Linked DNA regions of Homo sapiens: region 2 is linked to region 1. The links are contacts of gene promoters, found by promoter capture Hi-C in blood cells and fetal thymus (Javierre and others, 2016). All regions are on one chromosome and are shown on one strand. Each heading gives the region's core, a stretch centred on a gene start or on the middle of the fragment in contact. The rest is flanking DNA. Distances are from core to core; before and after follow the strand shown.

The links. The method cuts DNA at HindIII sites, captures the fragments that hold promoters and counts their contacts. A CHiCAGO score of 5 or more calls a contact.
Region 2: a contact is called between a fragment that was not itself captured here and the fragment with the promoter of TMEM68 in region 1, in 1 of 17 cell types (total CD4 T cells). The highest score is 6.7, in total CD4 T cells.

Annotation. Positions count from the first base shown.
Region 1 is chr8:55,769,964-55,776,884 of GRCh38, reverse strand. It overlaps TMEM68 (transmembrane protein 68), which reads left to right and starts at 3,507. Exons shown (of 8, transcript NM_001286657.2): 1 at 3,507-3,616. It overlaps TGS1 (trimethylguanosine synthase 1), which reads right to left and starts at 3,439. Exons shown (of 13, transcript NM_024831.8): 1 at 3,166-3,439. The coding sequence starts at 3,266. RefSeq lists enhancers at 3,001-3,330, 4,102-4,605 and silencers at 3,471-3,660, 3,751-3,880. The HindIII fragment of the contact is 10,724 bases long and covers 1-4,959 here.
Region 2 is chr8:63,164,352-63,171,031 of GRCh38, reverse strand. YTHDF3 (YTH N6-methyladenosine RNA binding protein F3) reads right to left here and starts at 2,411. Exons shown (of 5, transcript NM_152758.6): 1 at 2,131-2,411; 2 at 1,621-1,645. The coding sequence starts at 2,154. YTHDF3-DT (YTHDF3 divergent transcript) reads left to right here and starts at 2,590. Exons shown (of 1, transcript NR_102684.1): 1 at 2,590-3,307. RefSeq lists a silencer at 1,809-2,048 and enhancers at 2,129-2,448, 2,649-2,868. The HindIII fragment of the contact is 1,313 bases long and covers 3,917-5,229 here.

The DNA of each region.
Region 1 (6,921 bases), core at 2,258-4,757:
GACAAGTCCCAAATGACAAGGCCTAATCAAAAGGAGAGCTCACTCAGAGCCTGTGTAAAGTCTGGTTAAGGAGAGTCTCTGTCAGTACAAAATGTAGAACAATTAGTGGTGGCACTTAATAAGTCATCTAAGGGAGGAGACCACCCCTCATATTGTCTTATGCCCAATTTCTGCCTCCAAAGAAAGAAGTAAAAACTAAAAGGCAGAAATGAAATCCATAAGCAGACAGCCCGGCGCCACACCCTGGGCCTGGTAGTTACTGATCCACCCCTGACCTAATCGGTTATTTGCATAAAAAAGGCACTGGGCCGGGCACAGTGGCTCACGCCTGTAATCCCAGCACTTTGGGAGGCCAAGGCGGGTGGATCAGAGGTCAGGAGACAGAGACCATCCTGGCTAACACAGTGAAACCCCGTCTCTATTAAATACACAAAAAATTAGCTGGACATTGTGGCGGGCGCCTGTATTCCCAGCTACTTGGTGGGCTGAGGCAGGAGAATGGCGTGAACCCAGGGGGTGGAGCTTGCAGTGAGCAGAGATCTCGCCACTGCACTCTGGCCTGGGCAACAAAGCGAGACTCTGTCTCAAAAAAAAAAAAAAAAAAAAAGACACCGTGAAGACCCCTGTCCAGTTCGGTTCCTTTCTAATTAGTGGTGTACGCAGCCCCCAGTCACGTACCCCTTGCTTGCTCAATCAATCACGATCCTCTCATGCAGACCCCCTTAGAGTTGTGAGCCCTTAAAAGGGACAGGAATTGCTCGCTCGGGTTGCTCGGCTCTTGAGACAGGAGTCTTGCCGATGCTCCTGGCCGAATAAACCCCTTCCTTCTTTAACCTGGTGTCTGAGGGGTTTTGTCTGCGGTTCTTCCTGCTACAGTCAATCGATCCAAGGGATTTAGTCAATTCTAGTGGATACTTTTAGTCCTCATTTTGCTTGATATTTTGGCAGCTTTCCAATGTTGATTACACCTTCACTGAAACACTTGGTGACAGTGTACTTAGGCTTGTCTGTTTCCTAGTTAATCCATCTCTTCTTGTCTTTAAAAAGTGCTGGAATTCCTCAAAGGTGGGTCCCCCTCCCCCACCCTTCATTCATGGGTTCAATCACTATCTAAGGCTAAATGGCTCAAGTTTTTAAAACTAGCCCAGACTTCTCCAGCGCTCCAAATCAATATATCTAACTGCTTATACCATCTACTCTTGGTTATCTCATAGATACCCCCAAATCAAAATGTATAAAATCAAACTCATAATCTCTTCTCCGTTGACCCAAAATAAAATTCATGATTCTCCAGTGATCCCTACCTCAGTGAAAGGCAGCAATACAATTCAGTCCCCACCCCCAGCAAGTTTTCTCCCATCTTTCTTTCTTTCTCCATTTCTGCTGCCATTTATCCTAATCCAAGTCACTATAATCTCTTGCCTAAACAATGGTCTTAAGTGGTTCTCTTCCTCCAAACAATCCTCCACACTGCCGCCTGAGTAGTATTTTAAATATGCAAATCTGATCATGTCATTCCCCAGCTTAAGGTTTTCCTATAGTCTACAAAGTCCTGCGGGTTTTGACCCTGCCTACTGTGCACACCCTATCTTCTTTCTTTCCCAGTTTTTTTTCTTTTCTTTCTTTTCTTTTCTTTTTTTTTTTCGGGACAGAGTCTTGCTCTGTCATCCAGGCACGACAATGGCTAACTGCAGCCTGGATCTCCTGGGCTCAAGAGAGCATCTGGCCCAAGCCTCCAGAGTAGCTGGGACTACAAGCATGTGCCACCACAGCTGGCTAATTTTAAAAAAAAATTTCAGTACAGATGAGGTGTTGTTATGTTGCCCAGGCTAGTCTCCAACTTCCGGGCTCAAGTGATCCTCACTCCTCGGCCTCCTAAAGTGGTGGGATTACAGGTGTGCACCACCGTGCCCTCCCTCCCAGCCATTTTGTTCAGTTTCCCAGGCTTTCTTTTGCTCCCTCAAGGCCTTTACTGAGTTCAGCCTGCAGAGAACGCTTTCTCCCACTGAAACTCACCCCAATTTATCCCCCTTAGACCTCTTTCCAAAAGCTACTTCCTCAAAGAAACCTCTGTGACCCTTGGAAAGTTATTTGTTTTCACAGCATCCTGCACTTCTCTCTCATAGCACTTATAACTATAATCAACCAAGTAATAATGTAACCAGTTATCTTAATATTGATCTTCTCTGCTAGGAAGTAAACTCAATACATGTAAGGACAGAATGTCTTGTACCTCAGTGCCTACCAGCATACTTGATATACAAGAGCACAAAAAACATTTTCTGAATGATTGTATGACTACATGCATGCCTGACTAAAAAGGCGACAATACTTTTTACATTAAATTTAACAAGTTTAACTTCTTTTTGCGTTTTCAAATTACTCCACAAAATTACACGAGAAAAATGAATTCCTTCAAACTTAAATCCTACTATATTAAACTATATTAAAAGTCTATCACATAAAATTCACTTCCACAAGGATTTAACTCTAACAAAATAAGCATGTGAGATTAAATATACCCGTTATAGAGATGAAAAAAAGGTTCAAGTGGTTTAACTCACGCATTTAATATAAAGGAAACAATTCCTAGAATTCAAGTCTCTTGGCGGTATTATTCCTGCATACTAGCTATTTTTCATGTGGGGCAATTTTTACCTGATTCAAAGATTTCCCCAAAATAAAGATATCACAAAAACTGATGTAAATATGGTTAAGTCTTTTATCTCAACTAGTTTGAAGTTTTAATTATGTGCATTTGGGCTTAAGTAGATTTTTAGGTTTAAAAAAAGACGTTAACCAAAGCAAGTCACTCAACTTTAAACTTTCACTTTATGACATCATATCTACTAGAGATTTCATTTTACATGTCGCTTTCCCCCAATTTTTAAATGTCCCCTCGATTTACAAATATGAGATGACATATAGCACCTACGACATTTTTTCATAGCAGCCTACCAAGTAGATGTAGTCCTTCACATAAAAATAATGGCAGTGGGCGACCACTCCGTCATGTCTGAGGGTTTTGTTTTTCTTAAACATCACCGTGCCCAAGGGTCAGATGTTCTGGCTGCTTTCAGGGATCAATTACAACCACGTTTGCAATACCTACATTTCTGGGTAATGACTGTGCTAGAACATGAAGAGATTCTCTTTTCTACTTACTCCACAAATGCCCTGGAGCAAAGGCACAGTATCTTACAATCCTCCCGCTCCTCAATGAAGAGAAACATTTCCGCCACGCGGCTCCACTTCTCGCAGCACATTTTACCACTTCGGAGGCAGCTCTGACGTACGCAGCCCGGGTCGCGCCTGCCGGGCCTCCGCTCGGTTACTGGAGACTTAAAACAGGCCTCGCCCGCAAGCCCTGGATGAGGAGATAGAAACTGGCCCGCGGCCGCTCGCGCCGGGAACTAGCCCGGACGCTGCCGCCGGAAGTGGCTCCGAGGGGCCACGGGAAGGGGCGGGACCACGGGCGGTGTCACCCCCATCGCGGCCCGGGCTGCAGCCGCCGCTTGGCTTCTTTCACACGGGTTGCTTCGGAGGAATCCGCCGTGCAAATCTGTCCGCCCCCTTGGCCACTGATCCCCCGAAGAGCTTCTGTCGCCGCTCTAGGGTAAAGGAGAGCTGCCCCTGCCCCTGCCCCCGCCTATCCGAGGTGCGTCGGCCCCCGCGCTTCTCCAGCCCGGCATCGGGTCTGGCGGGACTGGGAGCGGCGGAGGCCGCGCGCGTCCGGTCTCCCAGGAGCCGCCTCGGAATCCCCAGTCTCTTCGCGGGCAGGCTCGGCTTCCCGCCGGCCTCAGTGTTGCGCCCCAGCGCCAGAGTGGCCGGGTGTGGAGATCCTCCCTCCTCTGGGTCAAAGAGCCTGCTCTCCCCGCCCCTCTTCTCCCCTGGCGCTCTAAACCTTCGGTTCGGCGCGTTTCATCCTAATGCATCTGGTGGGGCGAGGCGTCTCTAGCCTCTGTAGAGGCCTCTAGGCTTGCCCAGTGGCTTCGCTGGTTCCGGGACCCAGGTCGAGCCTCCGGTGTAAAAGCCAAGGGGAAGTGTGTGGTGATCCCGAGAGTGTAGGGGGAAAGCCGCGTGGGTAGAGCGTTCGTATCCAGACCGATCAGGCTTGGAATCCTGGTCCTACCTTGTGACCTGGGCAGGCAACTTCACCTTTCTGAGCTTACCTTTGATCACCTGTGAAATGGGGTTGATTAATAGTAACTACTACATGAGGCTGCAGGGAGGACTAAACGAAATGATGTATATTACACCTTTCCTTTGTGCGCTTAATCGTTGGCGTCGGTTTGGACCTTGTAGGCGTTAAGTGCTGTCTCGGTCCCTGGGGTTTGCAGCCTGTAAAACAGGTCTCTGCCTTCAAGTTACTAATTATCTAATAAGAAAAAAGTTCATGTGGGCATAAATAGGATGGAGAAAATGGAAACAGCAGCGTTGCTGGATCTGTTAAAAAGCAGTTAGTATTTGGTGTGTGGTATTCATGGAGGCTGCACGGGCAACTTCTTCAGAGACAAGCTCAGACTTGAAAGTTGGAGCGCTTCGGACGTGGTTGGTGCTACGAAATGCCAAAATAGTATTGGTACTTCTTCAGAACTATATAAAAACTGAGCTAAAATTCATGCATTTTGAATGGTATTTTCAATAGTATTTTGGCCACATTTACTAGTTAGTGGAAATATTCATTTTCAAATGTTTATTCCCACCTCCTTACTGCTGCCCTACTTTGAGGTCGGAGATAGGCTGATTTTGTTGGTTCAAGAAGGTAAGAGTGCTGCACGGTTACAGATATACCAGTATAGATGTGCAGCATTATTGGGATGAGTAGCTGGGTTACGATAATAAGGGTAGAACAGTAATTATGAAACAGAGTGGAAGATTTTAGCTAGAAGTTGGGCATTCTAGGATTAAAGAAAAGTCTTGAAGGGTAATTTGTATCAGAACCTCGAGTTTAAAGCTTGAAATAAAAAAAGTATTAAAGCTAAAAGGATTAGATTTACCAGCTATCTTGACAAATACTAAATTGCAGCTTTATTCATGGTTTGAAGTAGAAGTCCTATTCAGTAAAACAGTGCTGTATCTCTGTTAAACCATTATTAAATATGCAGAAAGGAAACAGGAAAACTTGTTTTTCAGTGACTATATCTTTTAATTGGCATTTTCAGAATGTTCTCAATGTGACTTATATACTAAAAGTAAAATGGAAAAGTACTGGTAATGGGTGTTCAAAATAGATATACTTTATTTATTTATTTATTTATTTTTTTTGAGACAGGATCTTGCTCTGTCACCCAGGCTGTAGTGTAGTGGCGCGATCGCGGCTCACAGCAACCTCTACCTCCCAGGCTCAAGCAATCCTCCTACCTCAGCCCCCCGAGTAGCTGGGGCTACAGGCATGCCACCATGCCTGCCTAATTTTGTGTGTGTGTGTGTGTGTGTGTGTTTTGTAGAGACAAGGTTTTGCCATATTGCCCAGACTGGTCTTGAATTCTTGGGTTCAAGTGATTTGCCTGCCTCAGCCTCCCAAAGTGTTAGGATTATAGGCATGAGCCACTGAGCCCAGCCTAAAATAGATACACTTTCTTAAGGTTTTATTGAAAGCCAAAAAGTTCTCTGTTCTGATTTATTAGTTTTTGAAATACTCTGATTTTAAACATCTGTAAGGTCCATATCCTCACCATCAATGTCAATATGGTGATATTTGAGCTTGTCAACTTTTTTTTTTTTTTGGAGACGGAGATTCATTTTTGTTGCCTAGGCTGGAGTGCAATGGTGCGATCTTGGCTCACCGCAACTTCCGCCTCCTGGGTTCAAGCGATTTTCTGCCTCAGCCTCCTGAGTAGCTGGGTTTACAGGCATGCGCCACCACACCTGGATAATTTTGTATTTTTTGTAGAAACAGGGTTTCTCCACATTGGTCAGGCTGGTCTCGAACTCCCGACCTCAGGTGATCCTCCTGCCGCTGCTTCGCAAAGTGCTGGGATTACAGGCATGAGCCACCGCGCGTGGCCTTGTCTACTTGTTTTTACAAAAGTTACGTGATTTCCAGATAGGGAAATTAAGATACTTTATATGTGATGCATTAGACTGTGTTTATTTTAGATTTTTAGGAGCAGGGGGCTGTAGAAAATAACCTGGAATTTTGAGAACTAAAATATTGTATTTCCCCCAAAACATCTTCTAGTACATAGAGTTCCCCCCTGCCCCCGAGACAGGGTCTTGCTCAGTTGCCCAGGCTGGAGTATAGTGGTGTGATCATTATAGCTTACTGCAGTCTTCACTCCACGGGCTCAAGCAGTCCTCCTGCCTTGGCCTTCCAAGTAGCTGCAACTTACAGGAACGTGCCACCATGCCTGGCGAACCTTTTTTTGGTAGAGACAAGGTCTCAGTATGTTGCCCCCAGGCTGGTCTCAAACTCCTGAACTCAAGCAGTCCTTCCACCTTGGCCTCGAAAACTGTTGGAATCACAGGCGTGAGCCACCCTGGCCCATGTCATTTTTCTTGGATTAAAATAAAGTGATAAGAAGTCAGTTACACCCCCAGGTAAATTCAGGGGGAAGGGGAAGGGCCAGGCAGAAGTATAGGGAAGACAGAAATTGCAATCTTAATATTTTCTTTCTGTCAAGAGAGAAAAAGAGAGATATATCAAAGAAAGTGTGTTGGAAGCCAGACCAGGAGGTAAGATGACTAGATTTTAATTTTAGTTCTTGGCTTTTACTGAATTAATTTAGTAATTTTAAGCAAGCAAACTTGGCTTTCTGTGTTTACTTTTTTTGTTATCTGCACAATTAAGGGGTTGCATTGAGATTTAAAGACACTTTGTCATATTATCAAAAGTAAGTGCTACATTTTATCTACTGAAAGGCATTTTATTCAAATTCCTCTGATAGTTCTCTAGTAGCAGGTTTTAGGATACTGTTT
Region 2 (6,680 bases), core at 3,324-5,823, 7.4 Mb before region 1:
ATAAAAATTTTTGAAATAACCAAAAAATACTTATTTGCAAACAGTGGATGTATTATGCAGTTTATAGATAACTCAACTCATATCTAATATCAAAGATGCCACCAGTGCCTACCTAAGTGAAATGACCACTCATAAATCAAACTTATTTTACTGACTTACAGTGCTGTAGAGGCTCTATTTTGTTTTAACAAACAAGTACCTCATAGAACTTGTGTACTTACCTTAAAGCGGGTAACATAAAACACTTAGCATTTCAAATAGCTTTGCAAAGTGCCACCTCCCCACAGATCTAGGATAAAATAATTTATGCTAGGCAATAATGACCACAATTTCACAATCTCCAAGTCTACATAGTTCCTAATGGGTAGACTAGCAAAAGAAGAAATTAATGGATCATTCTTTTTAAAATTCACAAATTTTTAAAAACTCATTTAAAATAAATCAATATCCAATTTTTATTTCAGGTTTATGCTTACAACAAAAAAAATTCTAGAAATGAAATTTTAAAAATTAAAATGTCTAAATATTTACATACTGCAAGAAAACATCTTTAATGAAAACAAACAAAATGTTACCTAATATGGTGCCATGTAACTGGTATGTACAAATTCCATAATTCAGAGGAAACTAATCTACATATCCAAAACCTATTAAATTCACCAAATTTGCAATAGCAAATAAATACCCTAACAAGAATTTAAAGGGCACCAAAGACAATCTATATCTAAAAGGCTATTATAGATCTTAATTTCTAACACTGTGTTACTGAAATCAACAGAAAGCATAATTTTAGTGTAATTTCAAGCACTACAAAATGTTATATATAATTTGCTCTGATGTTATTTAATTGGCACTATCCCAAGAAAGCAGTTATTGTTCTATACTTAACTAAATGTCACATGACTAATGTCATAATGTTTCAGTCAGCTGACTGCACTGTTCCATATTAATACAAAACACACTTTTTAAAAAAACACTTTACTTTCAATGGTACTTTTACTAAAGAGAAAATTATAAAATCCTGGAAAAAATGTCACAAACTATTTTCTTCTCAGCCCTTTATAAAATACCAGATAGAGTCACACCTTGCAATCAGAACAATAGAGCAAGATGGCATGCCTACTCAGTTCTAACCTCTCTCATGTTGTTGCCTCATTACAACTGACTTCAATAGAATCAGTGATTAACAGTACAATTTTCATTAATGTGATGGAATACTATGTAGACTTCCATTTTCCAGTGTAATCCAGACATGTCAAACAAAATGTCCACTTTAAGAATATACTTGTCTATATACACATGTAGAAATTTTTTGTGGCATAAGTTACATAACACAGAAAAACTGGAAAACCAAAGAAATACCACCAGGTTCACACCAATACCTGCTTAACTGACAAGGAAACTGTTTCTCGTACTACTTTGGTTTCTATAAAGTGGCTTCAAAGCAACGAACTACCGAAGTTCTGGATAGAACTTGGCTACCTTAGCCATGATGAATATTTTCCCTAATCCTACATTTTTTCCCAAGAGGGAGCAAAAACAAACAAAATACCCTCACAGAGTTTAAAAGTAACATTAAGGCAACATTGAGCAATAAGAAAAAAAAAAATCCAAACTCACCTTTATTTCCTTGCCCTTTAGGTCTCTGTGTTGCAAGACGAAAGATGCGGTAAAGAGGAGAAAAAGGAAGAAAAGAAAAAGTGTGTTAATCAAAGGCATTATCAAAGACAAGTTATTTTAGACTATCCGCGTAGGAGTAAAAACCCACCATATCCTCCACAGCCACCAATTTCCCAACCACCCCCAGCCTTTAAACCTCCCACCCGCCACTCGGAATCCGTCTCCCAGAGCTCGCCCGGTCTCCGCCCCATGTCTGCCGCCCTCAGGATCTGTCCTAAGGCCCCTAAGACCGGTCCTTGCCCCCACCCGCCGCGGCACCGCGCCCGCCCGCCCGCAAGCTACGGGGCCAGGGCGCACGCCCCGGCCCGGGTAGCTACACCGCAGCAACTTGCGCCCGGGGCACCGTTATGGGGCCGGCAGCGGCGGCGACGGGGAGGAGCCGAAGCCCCGCGCGAGGGTGGAGCTCCGGGGCTCGGGCCTTCGCCAAGCCTGGGGCCTCTGCTCCCTCACCTGATCCACGCTAGTGGCTGACATTCTTCACCGCAACCCGAGAGCCGCCGCCGCCGCCGCTGCCTGGGCCTCTCCCCGTGCACTCACAGCAGTTGGCTGTCGCCCTTGGCCGAGTGATTGTTCCAGCCGCCGCCGCTGCCGCCGTTCGCTGAGAACCCAAAATGAGGGCCTCGCGCTCGGGAGTCGGAGGAAGAGGCCCGTCTTTTCCGCTTGCACGCTCCTCTTCCCCCTCTCGCTCTCTGCTTCTCGGGTCCACAATGGCGGACAGACTCCCTAGTCTCACTTCCGCTCCGAGCCTCCCTGACCTTCCGCTCTCCACTCTGACGTCCGCGCTCACCTCGCTCTTCCTCCCCCACCCTCCCGCCGCTGATCTTGGCTCCGCCTCCTCACCGCCACGTCACCGGAGACCGGACCCGCGCTCACGGCCGGTGGGCGCATGCGTCATGGAGGGAGCGCGTCGGGGCGTCAGCGAGCGCCAACTTTCAGCGTCTTTTCTGCGGCTTCCTTCTATCCCGCTCCGAGGCTGCAGGGCCCTGGCAGAGTGGCGTCAGCTGGAAGGCTGGCCAGAGCCGGATTTTGTTGCACTCCGGGCAGGAAGATGGCCGAGGCGGCGGCTGACGGAGATAGTAGTGCCTTGCTGAAGTCACGGCGGCCGGCGGCGCCCTCCTGGAGGCTGACGGGACGGAGGCAGGGAACTTCCCGGTGAGCCAGCCGGGCCTAGCAGGAGCCTTCGGCGGCTGCCCAAAGCCGTGGGGACGGCTGGCTGACTCAGCCGCTCTCTGGACGGAGTTGCTGGGTCCCCACAAGCCTGCCCGTGCAGCTGAAGTGGCAGGTTAGAGTTGTGGTACTCAAACTTAAGTCCAAGCAAACAGGAGGAGCACCGGCGCGGGTTCAGTCTTTCCAAACCCAGTTCAGCCGTAATCTCTGGAGTCAGACTTCGCCGCCCAATTCATGGATTTGTGCTTTTGACTCCGCTCTGATGTTTTTGAATGAATAAAGTTGCCTAGGATACTTAAGTATAGTTGCAGAGCGTCTTTTCGGCCCTGAAAAGAGGGAAAGTTTCCATTGAAAAAGTTCTTTATCACATATTGGCAAACCCAAAGTATGCCAATTTGCAACGTGTTGACATTTTCATTGAAATATCTACAATAAAGGCAAAGATTCCTTGTCTCAGTGATACAGAGTCCATGGAAGGAAATAATTTAAATGACCAAATACTTTCTGTACTTCAAAAACCATCAAATAAGTGATCATTTAGAAAGTAAAATTGTAGAATCATAAGATTAATTTTGTGGTTTACAGTGCAACAGTATCTTAGAAGCACTGAATAATAGAAAAACTTGAGAGGCCACTTTTCATGTAAATCACCAAGAGGCATTTTTAAGTTCTGGTTAGACAGTTTCCCTTGCCCTTCCATTCATTGCCACGGGTCCCAACCTAAGCACCCTTGCATTTCCCAAGACTCCCCCAACCCTTTCTGCTGTTGCTCTCAATGTCTCCCATCCTTCACTCCCAAACAGACCGTTTTAGTTTTAATGAGTTTGCTGGTACATGCTATGAGCCAGGAACTTGAGAGAGAATATACAAGAGGAGGCTTAAATCTTGCAAGCCTTGTCTTTGATCCTTAGTATCATGGCTTTGGAACCCAATCAATTCGAATTTAAATTCTAGTGGAGCAAGAATTAGTGTTATAATCTTGGTAAAGGCACTGAAACTTTCTAAGCTTTAGCTTCCTCATGAGTAAAATTAGGTCCTTCGTGTACAGTTCCTGACACAAAAGTAAGCTTTCAGCAAATTGTGGCTATATACAGGTAATGAATTGTTCCTTCGCTAAAAGATTCCCGGAAATAGTAATCGCTTACATTTATTGAGAACACATTATATGTCATGTTAATTCCCACAGCATCCTTGCAGAAGTGCCATTATAAAAACTGACACAGTGAGGTTAGGAAACACGCCACAAACAACACAGCTAGTCACTATGAGAGCCAGGATTTGAACTCAAGCAGTGTGACTCCCAAGTTCCCACTCTAATAACTACCATATAATACTGCCTAATGACATAATATTATGAGCTTCTATTCTCTTTCATTTTTGCTCAACAAACTTCTTTCTTTATGGCTTTTCTTCCTAGCAATAATACCTACCCTCAGATATAAACCTACTTAATTTAATATTAACAGACTTTTGAAGTACATCTGGGGACTACCTGAAACCATCTCCAATGCCTCCAGGAGTGTATTAGTCCGTTTTCATGCTGCTGATAAAGACATACCCGAGACTGAGAAGAGAAAGAGGGGTTAAATTGTGTTTAAAGTTCCACATGGCTGGGGAGGCCTCAGAATCACGGCAGGAGGCAAAAGCCACTTCTTACATGGAGGGCAGCAGGAGAAAATGAGGAAGAAGCAAAAGTGGGAAACCCCGATAAACCTATCAGATCTCATGAGACTTAATTCACTATAATGAGATTAGCATGGGAAATACCGGTCCCCATGATTCAATTACCTCCCCCTGGGTCCCTCCCACAACACGTGGGAATTCTGGGAGATAAATTCAAGTTGAGATTTGGGTGAGGACATAGCCAAACTATATCATTCTGCCCTGGCCCCTCCAAATCTCATTTCTTACATTTCAAAACCAATCATGCCTTCCCAACAGTACCCCAAAGTCTTAACTCATTTCAGCATTAACCCAAAAGTCTACAGTCCAAAGTCTCATCTGAGACAAGGCAAGTCCCTTTCGCCTATGAGCCTGTAAAATAAAAAGCAAGCCAGCTACTTCGTAGATACAAAGGGGGTACAGATATTGGGTAAATACAGCCATTCCAAATGGGAGAAATTGGCCAAAACAAAGGGGTTACAGGGCCCATGCAAAGGGCACTCAAATTTTAAAGCTCCAAAATGATCCCCTTTGACTCCAGGTCTCACATCCATGTCATGATGATGCAAGAGATGGGTTCCCATGGTCTTGGGCAAGGAGAATGGAGAGGATATTTTGAAAAATGTTGCCACAGAGCCTAGTTTCTAGGTAAAAATGCACTCTTCTAAAGAGCCACTAGGGTGTGTCAGTCTCCTGGAGCACACAGCACAGTGCAAAGCTTGGAAAGGAGAGGGCAGGCTGGATTTAAGGCCCCATTTTTCCCTCAGCCAACTTTGGTGTTTGTGTGTGCGTGTGTTGTTGTTATTTGTTGTTTTGTTGTTTAATTATAGCAACATGTTCTTGCTATGTTGCCCAGGCTGGTCTCCAACTCCTGGGCTCAAGGGATCCTCCCACCTTGGCCTCCCAAAGTGCTGAAATTACAGACAGTGAAGTTCCAGTCTGCACAACTGTAACTTCTGTATGATTACTTGTATCAGTTCAAATTAGGTTCAGCTACAAGTGGTATCAAGTTCAAAATAACAGGAGCCGAAGATAGAAATCTGTTTTTCTCATACAACAGCAGTCTGGATATACTCCAGGACTTGGGTTGCCATTGTATCAGATAATCCAGGCTTCTTCTAGTCTGTTGTTCCACCATCCTGTTATAAATAAAGTTTTGTTGCCACAAAAGAAGTAGCACTCGAATATAGAATTTACTTTTTAATTCTCAGCAAGGCAAGTTACTTCTACAGAAGGGTGCACCCTTACAGATGGAACAACGGTGAGCACAGACTTAGACAAGGGAAGGGAAGGGGTTCTATCCCTGACGCATGTGGCCCCTTCTGCTGTGTTGTTCCCCTATTGGCTAGGGTTAGACCGCACAGGCTAAACTAATTCTGACTGGCTAACTTAAAGAGACTGACAGGGTGAGTGGTTTGGCGGGAAAAATGGTTATGACAGAGCAGGTAATTGGAATGAGTCAGGGTGGAGTAGGTAATCAGAATGAGTCAGGATGGAGCAGGTAATCGAAAAAGGTTGCTTTATGAGGAAGTTAAGTTTAAAAGTAAAAGGCAAAGAATTGAACATACTGACATATTGATTCTTTGAAAAGAAATTTAGAACTCATATCTAACAATCCTCATTATGATACCTCTACCTGTGGCCCATGATGGCTGCTCAACTTCCAGCCATCCTAATCACATTCCCACCAGCAGAAAAACAAGGTTAAGAAAGCACATTGTTCTCCTTTAAGGACATTTTGTAGAAATTGCATTTTTCCCATTTGTATTAGTCTGTTTTTGCATCGCTACAGAGGAATACCCGAGACTGGGAAATTTATAAAGAAAAGAGGTTTCATTGACTTACTGTTCTGCAGGCTATTCAGGAAGCATGGTCCAGCATCTGCTTGGCTTCTGATGAGGCCTCAGAAAGCTTGCAATCATGGCAGAAGGCAAAGGGGGAGCTAGCTTACACATGACGAGAATGGATGCAAGAGTGAGATGGGGGAGGTGACACACACTTTTAAACAACCAGATCTTCTGTGAACTCAGAGAAAGAACTCAATCATCACCAAGGGGATGGTGCTAAACCATTCATGAAGGATCTGCCCCAGTGATCCAAATGCCTCTCCACCCTCAACATTGGGGATTACTTTTTTTTTTTTTTTTTTTGAGATGGAGTCTTGCTCTGTC